Regions from separate parts of the Homo sapiens genome. Here region 2 is linked to region 1. Evidence: promoter capture Hi-C in 16 types of primary human blood cells and fetal thymus (Javierre and others, 2016). All regions are on one chromosome and are shown on one strand. Each heading gives the region's core, a stretch centred on a gene start or on the middle of the fragment in contact. The rest is flanking DNA. Distances are from core to core; before and after follow the strand shown. Region 1 holds the start of PIK3C3 (phosphatidylinositol 3-kinase catalytic subunit type 3). Region 2 overlaps PIK3C3 (phosphatidylinositol 3-kinase catalytic subunit type 3).

The links. Contacts are between HindIII fragments. The CHiCAGO score rates a contact against its expected background, and 5 or more counts as called.
Region 2: a fragment that was not itself captured here is called in contact with the fragment with the promoter of PIK3C3 in region 1 in 1 of 17 cell types (total B cells); the score reaches 6.3 in total B cells.

What each region holds. Positions count from the first base shown.
Region 1 is chr18:41,952,882-41,959,331 of GRCh38, reverse strand. It overlaps PIK3C3 (phosphatidylinositol 3-kinase catalytic subunit type 3), which reads right to left and starts at 4,098. Exons shown (of 25, transcript NM_002647.4): 1 at 3,973-4,098; 2 at 1,574-1,762. The coding sequence starts at 4,040. RefSeq lists an enhancer at 4,141-4,320. The HindIII fragment of the contact is 3,603 bases long and covers 1,759-5,361 here.
Region 2 is chr18:42,041,585-42,048,034 of GRCh38, reverse strand. It overlaps PIK3C3 (phosphatidylinositol 3-kinase catalytic subunit type 3), which reads right to left. Exons shown (of 25, transcript NM_002647.4): 20 at 4,218-4,302. Among named protein-coding and RNA genes, the nearest start is that of PIK3C3, 90 kb to the right of the region's middle. The HindIII fragment of the contact is 4,090 bases long and covers 314-4,403 here.

The DNA.
Region 1 (6,450 bases), core at 2,849-5,348:
AGAGAAGAGTTGGCAAATGGGAGGAGGAGGAGAAAACCTTTAATCTTGTAATTGAGAATTTGCTTTTGTTGTAATTTCCTTTTTTGTCAAGTCATGCAACAGAAGCCACTATACATTTTTCCTTACCAAAATGTTTTTGGCCTTCTAGACCTAAATTTGTTTTAACTCTTCTGAGAGTAATAGGTGACCTCAAAAATCTAATTAAAGCTTTGAGCTCTGTCCCTGAAAAAGTACACAAAACACAAAATTCTGCATACACCTTCAGGGGTTTGAAGACTTCCTGATTCCAGTTTAAGAATCTCTGATACAATTAAGGAATTCTGCTCCATTGTTTTAGGTGTGATGATGATGATACTGTAGTTATGCTTTAAAAACAGATATACAGAAATACTTACAGTTAAGGTGTTATAACGTTTGAGGTTTGTTACAAAATGGTGAGAATACAAGATTGGCCATGAGTTAACAGTAGGTATGTAACAGAAACTTAGGCGTTCACTGTATTATTCTATTTTTGTAGGTTTAAAATTTTCCAGAATAAAAAGTATTAAGTATATATATATATTTTTTATGTGTGTGTGTATATCTACATACACATACACACATATCTATATACATATATATCTATATCTATATACACACATATATATATACAGATAGATAGGCTAGATAGACAGACAGACAGACAGATATCTCTCCACAAAGACTACTGAAGAAATTACACCATTAAAATACTTGGTTTCGATATGGCCAGATCACCAGAGTTCAGGCTTCTGCTGTTTGAAAACCCTTTCCAGCTACACTGGGTGACACCTGGGACACACAGGGTTGAACCCTCTATGGCACAGTCTGGCTGTCCATGTGGTCACATCCTGTCTTCCATGAACACTCCTTCCTTAAAAGCATACAGCCTGTGTATCCTACACTGAGCCTACCAGAGTGCTGAATAACACTCGCTGATCAAACATCAGAACTGCACTACATAGTCTATCAAATAAGAAGTGTCAAGAAGTCAGATTAAGGATCCACAATACTCTTCTGAAAAAAACAGGAACTTCATGTTCATTATATTTACCCTGCATCTTGACAAGGTCTTGCTAATGTGCCATGCTGAATAAACTATGAATCTAAATAAATTAGTTTCATATGTAAAATAATAATAAAAATTTTATCTGAACCGATGGCAATAGATCTATCTCTAAAAATCTGAGCTCCAAACATCAGGTTGGACAATATTTCAGACTATCCAGAAGTATTTATGCATTCAAGAGCACAGGATGGTAAAGAATTTTAAAATGCCACAGACGTGTTTTTGTTTTTGGTCATGTAAATCAGTCAAGTGCTTATCAAAATGTCAATATGCTAACTACAAACATAAATCCATTTCTATTTCAATTGCAGTTATAATACTGACATGCATAATACTTTATCTGAGTATGTTTCTACTTCAAATGATTTGATCAATGCCTATAGGTATTAAGAAATTCCTCTATAATCCTACTAAATTATACTTGCAGCATCCATAAAGAAAGGTAAGAACAGTCTGTAACATACCATATGCCACAAAAAAACTTACTTCCATCTTGTACTAAATGCTTTGTAGGATGTTCTCACTGGCAAGGCCAAAGGCTTCCCTTCTGCAAAAACTTGACAAGTAACATAAAGATCAGAGCATGTCTCTTGATATAGTCCTGAGAACTTCAACATTGGGTCTTCCAGGACAGCTTTATAACTCTTTTGTTCTCTCTTCCCTTCCAAGCTTCCTCTGAAAGCACAAGACCAACAATGTTTCAGACATGAATTTTTTAAGCATGTACATATATACATAAGTACTAAGCATGTACATATATGCTTTAAGCATGTACATATATGCATAAGTACTAAAAAGTTTACCTTTGTGTTAAGGTATGCTACCTAAACAACATTTTCCTGTATATGAAATTAATGTCATTTTTATATATGATAAGGGTTTCTTAAAATCCTAACATACCTAATATCAGTCCCATCTTCATCAACACATTTCTCTATTTTATACTTCTGAATTTTAAACGCTGCCATTGACCCTTGATCTACCCTCTGGAAGTCACCAGCTTTCTAGGCCTTGGTTTCATTTTCTTCATTTCAAGTTGACCACATATTCATCTATTCTTTCAGGAAACATTTACCATAGTGGACAAAGAAGCCCAGAAGAAAGAAAAGATAAGCAATACAGTATTACAATAAAATATTAAGTCATTGCTTCTGGGGAAAAAAATTTACTTTTAACTGCATGTTTTTATTCTACTCTTTCCATTTTTTTCTTTTACTATGCATATGCATTGTCTGATCATTTCTTTAAAACAGTGGTATAAGTCATAAATAGATATGCACAGGATACTATCACAGAGGGAGGAACATTTTTTAGACATCAAGATTACATCAGATACTGTGCCAGGCATTTTATATTTTCTTTCTTACATAATTTTCACCATATTCTCATTTTATAAATGAGGAAACAGAGACTTATAAACTAAACTCCTTATCCACAGTCACAACGTAAGTAACAGAGCTGAGAATAAACACTAGGGCAGGGAGGCCAAAGCCAATATTCTTCCCATTACAGTAAGATAAATCAGAGTCTCAAGAGTACTTAGGCTGGCATGGGGAAGGGACTTAGTACCCCAGATAGATGTCTGAAATGATCCTGAACAATGCATGAGAGTTGAAGCAAAAGAAGCAGAACGTCATCCCAAAGGGAAAGGAGACAGAGTGAGACCCTGTCTCCAAAAAAAAAAAAAAAAAAAAAAGGGACCGGTTTTTTTGGCTTTTTCTTTATTTTTAATGTTCAAACATTTCAAAAAATGCATTCATATATCCAAGAAATACTGAGCATCAAGCTGAAGGAAAGCCCTTTATCAATATTGATCCTGTATAAACTACTAGTGGTGTATGCTATGGAAAATACCTTAAATGAGTGTATAAAGTATCATACAAAGGTACAAGGTGGTTGTTGACATATTACTTTTACCACCACCACCACAAACTAAAAAGTAAAGTATTTGTCAGCGAATAAGGGACTTCTGAAAATAAAATGAAATGATCATTCAAAGGTACATCAGACAACTGAGAAAATTTATCTATCACTTACTGCAGGCCTTTGACCGACACATATTTGTTGAATATTAATTGAACATACACAAGAAATGTTTATTAATTATGGATGATGCTATGGTCAATAATTTGTGATAGCTTTGACAACACTCCTACATGACCACCTTAAAAGGGACATAATTTCCAACTCTGTCTTGTGCATCCCTCGTCATTATACCAGTTCTATTATCCTCATCTCAAGATATCACGCCCTTGACCTTTACTTCAGCCGTGGTGCCCCAACGTTTTCCTGCAAAGACTCTTTTCTCCTATCTTCTTGGTACCTTTGAAACTGGAACCCTCATCTTCGACTTACTCCCAACTTCCCTGACTAAACACTGCCATACTACCCAAAGATTCACTCTAGGCCTCTATCACCTCCCGTGCTAATACACCATGTGCTCATCTTATTCTCAACTATCGCATCTGCCTGTGTCTACCTCTCCATAATTTCTGAAGCCTTCATTCCACCCTACAAGCCCCGTTCCAAAATAAAGATCGTCCTCTTACTTACGACGAGACTTGATTTCTTAATTTACAATGAAATAGTAATAAACTCTCAAAAGGCTGAACAGCAAAAACTTTAAAGACTGTAAAATACAGCGGAACTTAAGGGCTATTCCTACTGCTGTGCTTCTCACGGAGACCACGTATTAAATCCTTTTCCAAAAGAGCCCCTCTCCACGATCCACTCTCTCGCGCCTCCCTGGCTACAGCCCTCACAGCCGCCCCCAATCTGGGCCTTGAGACGAGTCACGTACTTTCTGCCTCTCACTCCCAACAGGCCCCTGCCCCCACGTCCCTACGCCCCAGCAATCCCACTCCCTGTCCCGAGTGTTCTCTTACATCTTAAGCTGGACGTTGATATCCAGGTCACAACTATAGATGTAGTGAAACTTCTCTGCTTCCCCCATCGCACCGTCTGCAAAGGTACCACCTACAGCGGGAACTTAGGTACAGGAAAAACAACATAAATGAACCAGCTGAGCCCCACAACACGGAACTTCCGGTTCCGCCCCCGCCAGCAAGCCGCCAATCCACGCCCGGAGCGAGTTCCGACGCGGCGGAACTCCCCGCCGAAACAACCCTTCCGCGCATGTGCACAAGGCGCCCACCATCTTGCTTAAGGGCAAATGTATACGGGAAACGGCTAATCTGGTTACATTCCAGTTTTCCTGTCTTGACAGCACTTTTTTTTTTTTTTAAAGAAAAAGAGACGCTATCATTTGAGCTTGAGCTGTACCTAAAACAATACGAAAGAAAATTCAATTCAAAAAGAATTATAACAGCTTTCACTGGCTGCCGGCTAAACAGGTTACAAGCACAAAAATTGGAATTTTGCCAGGTTTAAATTCCAGTGGCCTTCCCAAAAAGTGTAGCACTAATTTGCTATCTCAAGCAAGGATTTTCTCTTTCTGCTCTAAAGAGTAGGGAAAGGACTAAATAGAGAATAAATAAATCTGGGTTTCATGTTTGGTGTTGTCAGTATTCATGCTACTTTGGACATAATACTTGCGTGCATGTTTAAACTGGGAATATTCAAATTCAATGTAGTTTCAAGCCCTAACCCAAGTTAGAATCTAGAGGCCTCCTGTAATAACTACAGAACACAGATCTCTAAACCCTCTGAGCTCCTATAATGTTTGTTTTTATAATTATTATAATCTAAAATTGTAATACTCCCTTCCAATTAGATTGAAAACTCTTGGAAGGTAAGACCAGTGTGCCATTTACTTCCGTGTCTTGCCCCGCTAGCTGTCTAATGCATTGCTGAGTTTAATACTTCCTACTTACTGGTTATTAATGATGATATTGAATGAAAGTCTCCATTTTCTATGCCTTTATTTCTTTTTTTTTTTTTTTTTTGAGATGGAGTTTTGCTATTGTCGCCCAGGCTGGCACCATCTCGGCTCACTGCAACCTCCATCTCCTGGGTTCAAGCGATTCTCCTGCATCAGCCTCCCAAGTAGCTGGGATTACAGGCACCCGCCACCCAGTCAGGCTAATTTTTGTATTTTTAATAGAGATGGGGTTTCACCATGTTGGCCAGTCGGGTCTCAAACTCCTAACCTCCAGTGATCTGCCTGCCCTGGCCTCCCAAACTGCTATGTCATTTCTTTTTTTTTTTTTTTTTTTTTTTTTGAGACAGAGTCGCTCTGTTGCCCAGGCTGGAGTGCCCGTCTCTCTGTTGCCCAGGCTGGAGTGCAGTGGCGCGATCTCGGCTCACTGCAAGCTTCACCTCCCAGGTTCATGCCATTCTCCTGCCTCAGCCCCCCAAGTAGCTGGGACTTCAGGTGCCCGCCGTCACGCGCGGCTAATTTTTTGTATTTTTTAGTAGAGTCAGGGTTTCACCGTGTTAGCCAGGATGGTCTCGATTTCCTGACCTCGTGATCCGCCCTCCTCGGCCTCCCAAAGTGCTGGGATTACAGGCGTGAGCCACCTCGCCCAGCCTATGTCTTTATTTCTAAGTGCTGCATTTTAAGACGGACATCACTAAAGTATGTGCAAAATGGCGTAATTAGAATGTTGAGGGATTAGAAAAAAAATATTTCCAAGAAAGGGTGAAAGGTGTGGAGCTGTTTAACCTGGAAAAGGAAAAAAAATGGCTAATGCAGAATGTTTTACACAAAATAAGTTCTCAAAAATATTTATGGAGGCAAGAAAAGGATTTGGGTAGAATAAAGAAAAACATGATAGTTATCCTCCTATAACTTAAAGTTTAAACAAAAAGAGCACCTTTGATTTGTTCCTAAGAATAACTGCCACCAATGGTTGGAACTTACAGGAAATGTAATTTCAACAAACAATACAAATTGAACTTTCTAATTATCACAGCCATTCAACAGTAACACTGTTGTCACAAGTACTCTGTTTAAGGCATAACTCCAGCAATGAGTGTGAGGTTTGATGTGAAACCTCAATCTTGAATAAAATATTGACAATGTGTAAAGGAGTAAATTATCTGATCCCAGTGGTGAATAAATTACTTTCATTATGTAATGGTATTTAATGTATAAACCTAAGATAATATTATATACATATACAACCAAACAAATTTACAAATTAAATATAAAAACTTCAAATTAACAATCTTAATATAATAGTGGGATTTTTTACGGAAACTGTTGTTTGCAAAATGATTATGGAATATAGTGTTGGCTACTCTTACAGGACTGATTCTTTGAAATTCAGCACGTCTATACTGCTATATTCCACAGGGCAATTCATTTTTCTAGACTCTTTTTCTCTATTCAAATAACTATGAACTCTTCATGAGTGTAACCACCATGATGTATTCTGGCTTTATCTTGCCTACAACACATC
Region 2 (6,450 bases), core at 1,109-3,608, 90 kb before region 1:
TTTTGTAAAGTTTATTTGAACACAGTCATACTCATTCATTTACACACTGGTTTAAGCATTACAATGGCAGGGTTGAATGGTTACACAGATCATCTGACTTGAAAAGCCTAAAATATTTACTATCTGCAAAGCTTTAGAGAAAAGTCTTACTCACCCTTGATCTAGAGCATTGCTACACAAAATGTGATCCCACAGACTGGCAGTATCACTATCACTTGAAAGCTTATTAAATATGTAAACTCTTCAGCCTTACTTCAGTCCTACTGAATCAGAATTTTTAGGGGCAGCAGCCACAATTCCATTTTAACAAGCTTTCAAAAATTACTATGCACACCAAAGGTTGAGAAGCCTTCTCTAAACTCTAGTGTATTGATGAACATAAGAATCACCTGAAAATCCTGTTAGAATGAAGATTCTGATCACAGAAGTCGGGTAAGGCCCAAGATTCTGTAATACAAACAAGCTCCCAGGTAAAGTCAATACTGTGGGTCCACAGATCACACTTTAAGTAGCACTGCTCTAAAACTGCCACAATACATGCAATTTCAAAAATGACTACAGACTCCCCATTGAAAAATAACTAAGTGACTTACTGAGGGATATTAAATTTGATATTCCTAAAGAGAAACTAAGTACAATACCCTGAGAACATATGAGAACTTAGTACACTTAGGTTCTCTAACATGTGATTCGTAGAAATCTACCTGCCACTCAAGGGTACTAAACTACCGATAATGTGCATATGAAGACAAGCGAAATTCCTACAATTTTGAAAAATAACATCACTGTACATCAGTGCAGCTGAGTTGTTCAATCCAGACCTACTTACTATTCCCATTTTTAAATTATAAATTACAGTTAGTTTTTGTCACTATTTACTTTGTTTCAAGTTTAGCTATCTCTATAGAATACTGATTCACCTGTGTTGCAACAGTTAATTCTGACCTAAAATTTTCATGTAACTGGATATACATGAATTATGCTTAATCCTAACGATAAAGCAAAATATTTCTATAAACTACTCATCATCAAATTTGAGAGTGCATTTCATTGTTATATGGAAATGCAAAAATAAGTAAGGGTCTTTTGCCCTGGCTCAGTGGATTATGGTCATAAATACGTTGGATGGTCATTCTGATAAACATGTTTAGTCAAGTGAAATATATGTATCAACATATGGCCATATTTAATAGTAAAGATGAAAATTTAGAGTGCTTCAATAGTTTAAAGTGTCAATACTCAGTAGGGCACTTTAAACAAGGCTACATCCTGAAAAATAACAACAAAACATTTGAGGTAAGAATGGGATGATCCTCAGAAACGTTGAGGAGATAACTAATACTCAGAATGATTTAAGATGACCTGAAATAAATTTGCTAGAAAATTTTTAGGGAAATTGATGTTATTCTTTAACTATACAACAATGGAAACACTATTTCTGTCCAAGAAAATCTTGTCAAAACAATGTTGTTAGTTTTTTTATTCCATGTGAGATACAAAACATCTTGAAATTGTTTTTATAAAAAAACTTTGACTTAAAGAAAAATATAAAGACAAATAGACCACTGATCCTATTTCCCTTTACTTAGTAAAGATATGTGTGTATGTGAGAATAAACAGTATTCCCACATTTAGCTGCATGATATACACTTGAGACTTTAGATAATCTGGAAAAGATGTCACCAAAACTATTATCAATTTTTTTCTTACACCCTGCAAAAACATTAAAACATTATTTTCTAAAATGAAAGTTACACAAAAACAGATTATTTTGTCATACAGGAAGCCATACAGAAAACAGAAGGCTCTTCTAGATGAAGAGAAGGCCTACCATTAAATCACTTACAGAGGAATGAATACATGTGAAATGTTGGAAAAAAGGGGAGAGATAAGATATAATGTGAATTTAACTGTCCAATAGGTAAGATAATTTAAATTGCTATTCTTTCCCCATGAAAAAGCCAGTCATATTTTCAGTAGCTCTTGGGGGGAAAATGGACCACTATACAAAAGACACAATGGTACGACATTAAGCATGTACCTGTAACATACCATTCTGATAATTTTACTAATGAGCAGAATTTTCAAATTGTAGTCAATACTGACAGGGCAAGCGTGTGTGTATGTATTTTGTGTGGAAAAAGTATTTCTTTATTAAACAGATTTATGACTTTAAAAGGTTTACAATAACTATGCTATAGTAAAAAGGTAAAAGATAATTATTTGGGGGTATATAAAACACCTCATGTAATAACGTACTAATGGAAATGGCCACAAATTCTGTGACACCCTTTTCATCCAGAGCTTGGATCTATATATATTCCGTCCCCTCAAATCCAGGAAGGCTCTAGGACTGCTCTGAACAACAGAATATAACAAAATATAGTTATACTATAAGCTGATATAGTACCAGCTTCCCAGCCCTGGCCTTCAGAAACTAGTATTTTCCATTTCCTGTCTGTCTGAATATTTGCTCTTGGAACCCAGCTCTAAGAGGCCCAAGCCAGGGACAGGTCATGTGTAGGTGATTCACAATAAGCCTAGCTAAGACAGTATAATCTGCCAATAATGTGAGTGATCCATCTTGGATGTTCAGCCTAGTTGAGCCTTTAGATGATATGCAATTTTTTTTCAGATCACAGAAAACATAGACTTGAAGGTCTGAGAAAAACAGAAGAGAAATGGGGCAAAATAAAGAAGAGAAACAAGAAAGGAGCAAGGGAAGAGAGAGAAACACAGAGTAAGAGGACAAGGGTAAACATTTTCTCTCAAAATCTTCAGTGTTTTTAAGTCTTTAAATACTGCATGTAATCACGTTTACAAACAAATTCAGTTACATGTAATATATGTTTATATTCCTATAGTAAAAACAAGAATTAAAACTATAAAGGACTCTAATTTATAAAACACAATTTTATTTCCATATTCTCAAAGTTCATTTTCTTTCTGCTTTTCAGACAAAAATGTATCATCACGAATAAATTTGAAAATAAGGTCCAAAATAATTTGGAAGGTGACTTCACAGGGGTGTTGTGAAAAACACAAAAATATTATGTATAAGAAAGCAACTTCTAAACCAGAAAATAATATGCAAGTTTAAATATAGTCTTAACAACTAACTAGAAAGCCCTCTTCTTGCTCTCCCAGCTTAAGCATAGGCATAAATAGGGACATAAACAAATATAGCGCTTATATAAAATAGTTATAACACATCATACATCCTGTCATTCAGGGCTCAACTCTAGTGTCAACTCCTTTACCAATCCTCCCATAAACAATCTAGTTATAAAAAAAATCAAAATAAAAAAATAAACATGCTGGGGATGGTGGCTCATGCCTTCAATCTTTGCACTTTGGGAGGCCAAAGCAGGTGGTGATCGTTTGAGCCCAGGAGTTTGAGACCAGCCTGGGAAACATGCCATAACCCTGTTTCTACAAAAAATACAAAAAAATCATCCAAGTGTGGTGGTGCACACCTCCTACAGTCCCAGGTACTCGGCGGGCTGAGGTGGAAGAATCACCTGAGCCTGGGAGGTCCAGGCCGCAGTAAGCTGTGATTGCGCCACTGCACTTCAGCCAGCCCGGGTGACAGAGTGTGATCCTGTCTCCAGGAAAAAAGGAAAAGAAAAGAAAAGAAAAAAATAAAGAAAATGAAAAAAAAAATCCTGTAGAATATAACCTTCGTGAAGTTAGACATAAATGCCTGAAGAATAAAAATTAATCCCTATGTCACTTACTATTTATTTCTAGGAAATACTACTACTGCTTTCTTATTTCTAGGAATGGACCATAAGGACTGACTCTAAAATACCACAAGGGCACCCTCTTAATGAAGCACCATTATCTTAGCTCTTAAACTTTATCTAAAGCACAATCATTTCTGATTGAAACTTTTCCCATGGTCTACTTAGTTTCTGTTATTCAAAAATAGAGAAAATCTAATGGAAAATTAACAGCTTCCAGGAAGAGATAAACTGTGATTATAAAATAGTTCAGTGATTACAAAGATATATCCATGAAAGACTAAATAGAATTTACACCTTGTTAATACTATTATGTCAAAGCATCAATGACTACTTTAATCAACATTTATCTTTTACTCTTCCTATAGAGCATTTAAATATTAACATGTTCTAAATGTATATGATTATGGCAATATCAGGATGGCCTGCTCTTCTTTATCTGATCAATGGAAAGTAATAGCCTGAAAAACTTACCACAGCTTTTAACGTAAGTGTCCATGACCTCAGCACTAATCCCATTTGGCCCATTCTCACTTGGTGCATATTTTCTAAAAAAGTTCTGAAAAGACATTATTTACATGTTTTAGAATTAAGTACAAACAAACAAACTAGGTGTTTTGAAACTATAAATAGTGACCAGCAAGTGTCTAGCATAAAGCTTAATCAAAATACAGTATGAGAGATGCTGACTGAACAAAAGAATTGTAAGAGTGCGATAAATACACTAGAGTTTCCATTAGGGGAAACTGTGTTTAATGTCCCCCACCACCCACCCCAGATTTCCAATTGCACCTATTCTTTTACATTTAGAGGCAAAACAAAAAACAAACAAACAAACAAAACCACAGAGCATATTATCTGAAAATACGATTAACGTACTATTAAAAAATGAGTTTATCCTGGCCAGATGTGGTGGCTCACACCTGTAATTCCAGCACTTTGGGAGGCCGAGGTGGGCAGATCATGAGGTCAAGAGATCAAGAACATCCTGGTCAACATGGTGAAACCCAGTCTCTACTAAAATACAAAAATTAGCGTGGTGGCAGGCACCTGTAGTCCCAGCTGCTCGGGAGGCTGAGGCAGGAGAATTGCTTGAACCTGGGAGGTACAGGTTGCAGTGAGCCGAGATCGCACCACTGCACTCCAGCCTGGCGACAGAGCAAGACTCCGTCTCACAAAAAAAAAAAAAAAGTTTATCCTATGTTTTCACCTTTTTTGAATACCCTGTATTTCTGACAAAGGATTTGCATCTGGAATATATATTTAAAAACTCCTATAAATCAATACAAAAAATACAAACAACGCGACAGGAACATGGGCCACAGGAAGATGTGAACATGCACTTCACAGAAGAAACAAATGGCCTATACATATATTTTTATACATTCAACCTTACAGATAATCAGGGAAATGCAAACCAAAAAGAGGTACGAAGAGTTTGAAGTTTGGCAACACTACGATTTGGCAGACATGTAGCAAGGAGAAACACAAGAAGTGTTACTGTTTTGGAAAACAACTTTTAATTATCGAAAAACAACTTTTCATTATCAAGTAAAGCTGAATGTGATCTATGACCCAGGTAAATCACTTACACAGATCAGATGTGCAGCCAAGAATCAGTATACAAACTGTCACTGTTTTCATTTTATAAAATCGTAATTACACAAAACAATGTAAGTAATGAAAAACTTTATGAAACAATGATGGCAATTAGGGCCCATGTTAAAAACTTTAAGTACACTTCAGGTCCTCTTCAAAACAATCCTGGAGTAATATGGGTTATTACCGAAATTTTACAGATGCAAAAACTGGTGTCTTGAAGGGTATGTTAAACGGGTCCCCAGGACCACTGACAGGTTTGACTTGCTAGAAGGTCTTACAGACTAAACATGTAGTTGTACCATGACTAAGGTTTGTTACAGAGAACGGATACACAGTAGAATCAACATGGAAAACATACACAGAAAAAATCTGGAGAAATTCATACATAGGCATCCTAGCCCTCTCTGTCCTATGAAGACACAGTGAGCTTCTTTTCCAATAGCCAAAAATAAAAAATAAAAAGCAGTAACATGGGTGTAATGTTTCTGACAAGGAAAGCCCATTAGAGACTTAGAACCCAAGGTTTTATCAGGAACTGGTGACCCAGGCAACCTCTGTCAAGCAAGTACAAAATTCCAGACTCCCAGAAGGAAAGTGGATTGTTTAGTATAAAGCATATTATTTGAACAAACAATCTAGGCACAGCGAACCACCCTTATCAATTAGGAAGCAAAGGGAACATGCTGAAAGCCAATGACCAATCTCCTGGCAAGCAGGCCTTTCCAAAGATTGCAACCTTAGGGCTACTATGTTAACTTTTCTCTGCAAAAAGAGTTAACCAGTTCACTCAAGGTTACAGAGCTGGAAAGTTACACAGGTGGAATTCAATCCCAGGCAGTTTGATGTCCTAAGCCTGAGCTTTTAACCACTGCACATGACTGTACCCCAAATCAAAGAACAGAATAAGCACTTGCTTTGCAAAAGAATCAGAGTAATACTTTTCTACAAATCTGACTCCCATACTGAATAAATGGAACAATTAAATAGGGAAAGGCAAAAACACACTGTATCAAACATCATCTACCAAGCCCTTCTGTGTATTATCTTTCATCTCAGGTGTATCCATTTTTGTTTTAATTACATACCTTTTTTTTTTTTTTTACAA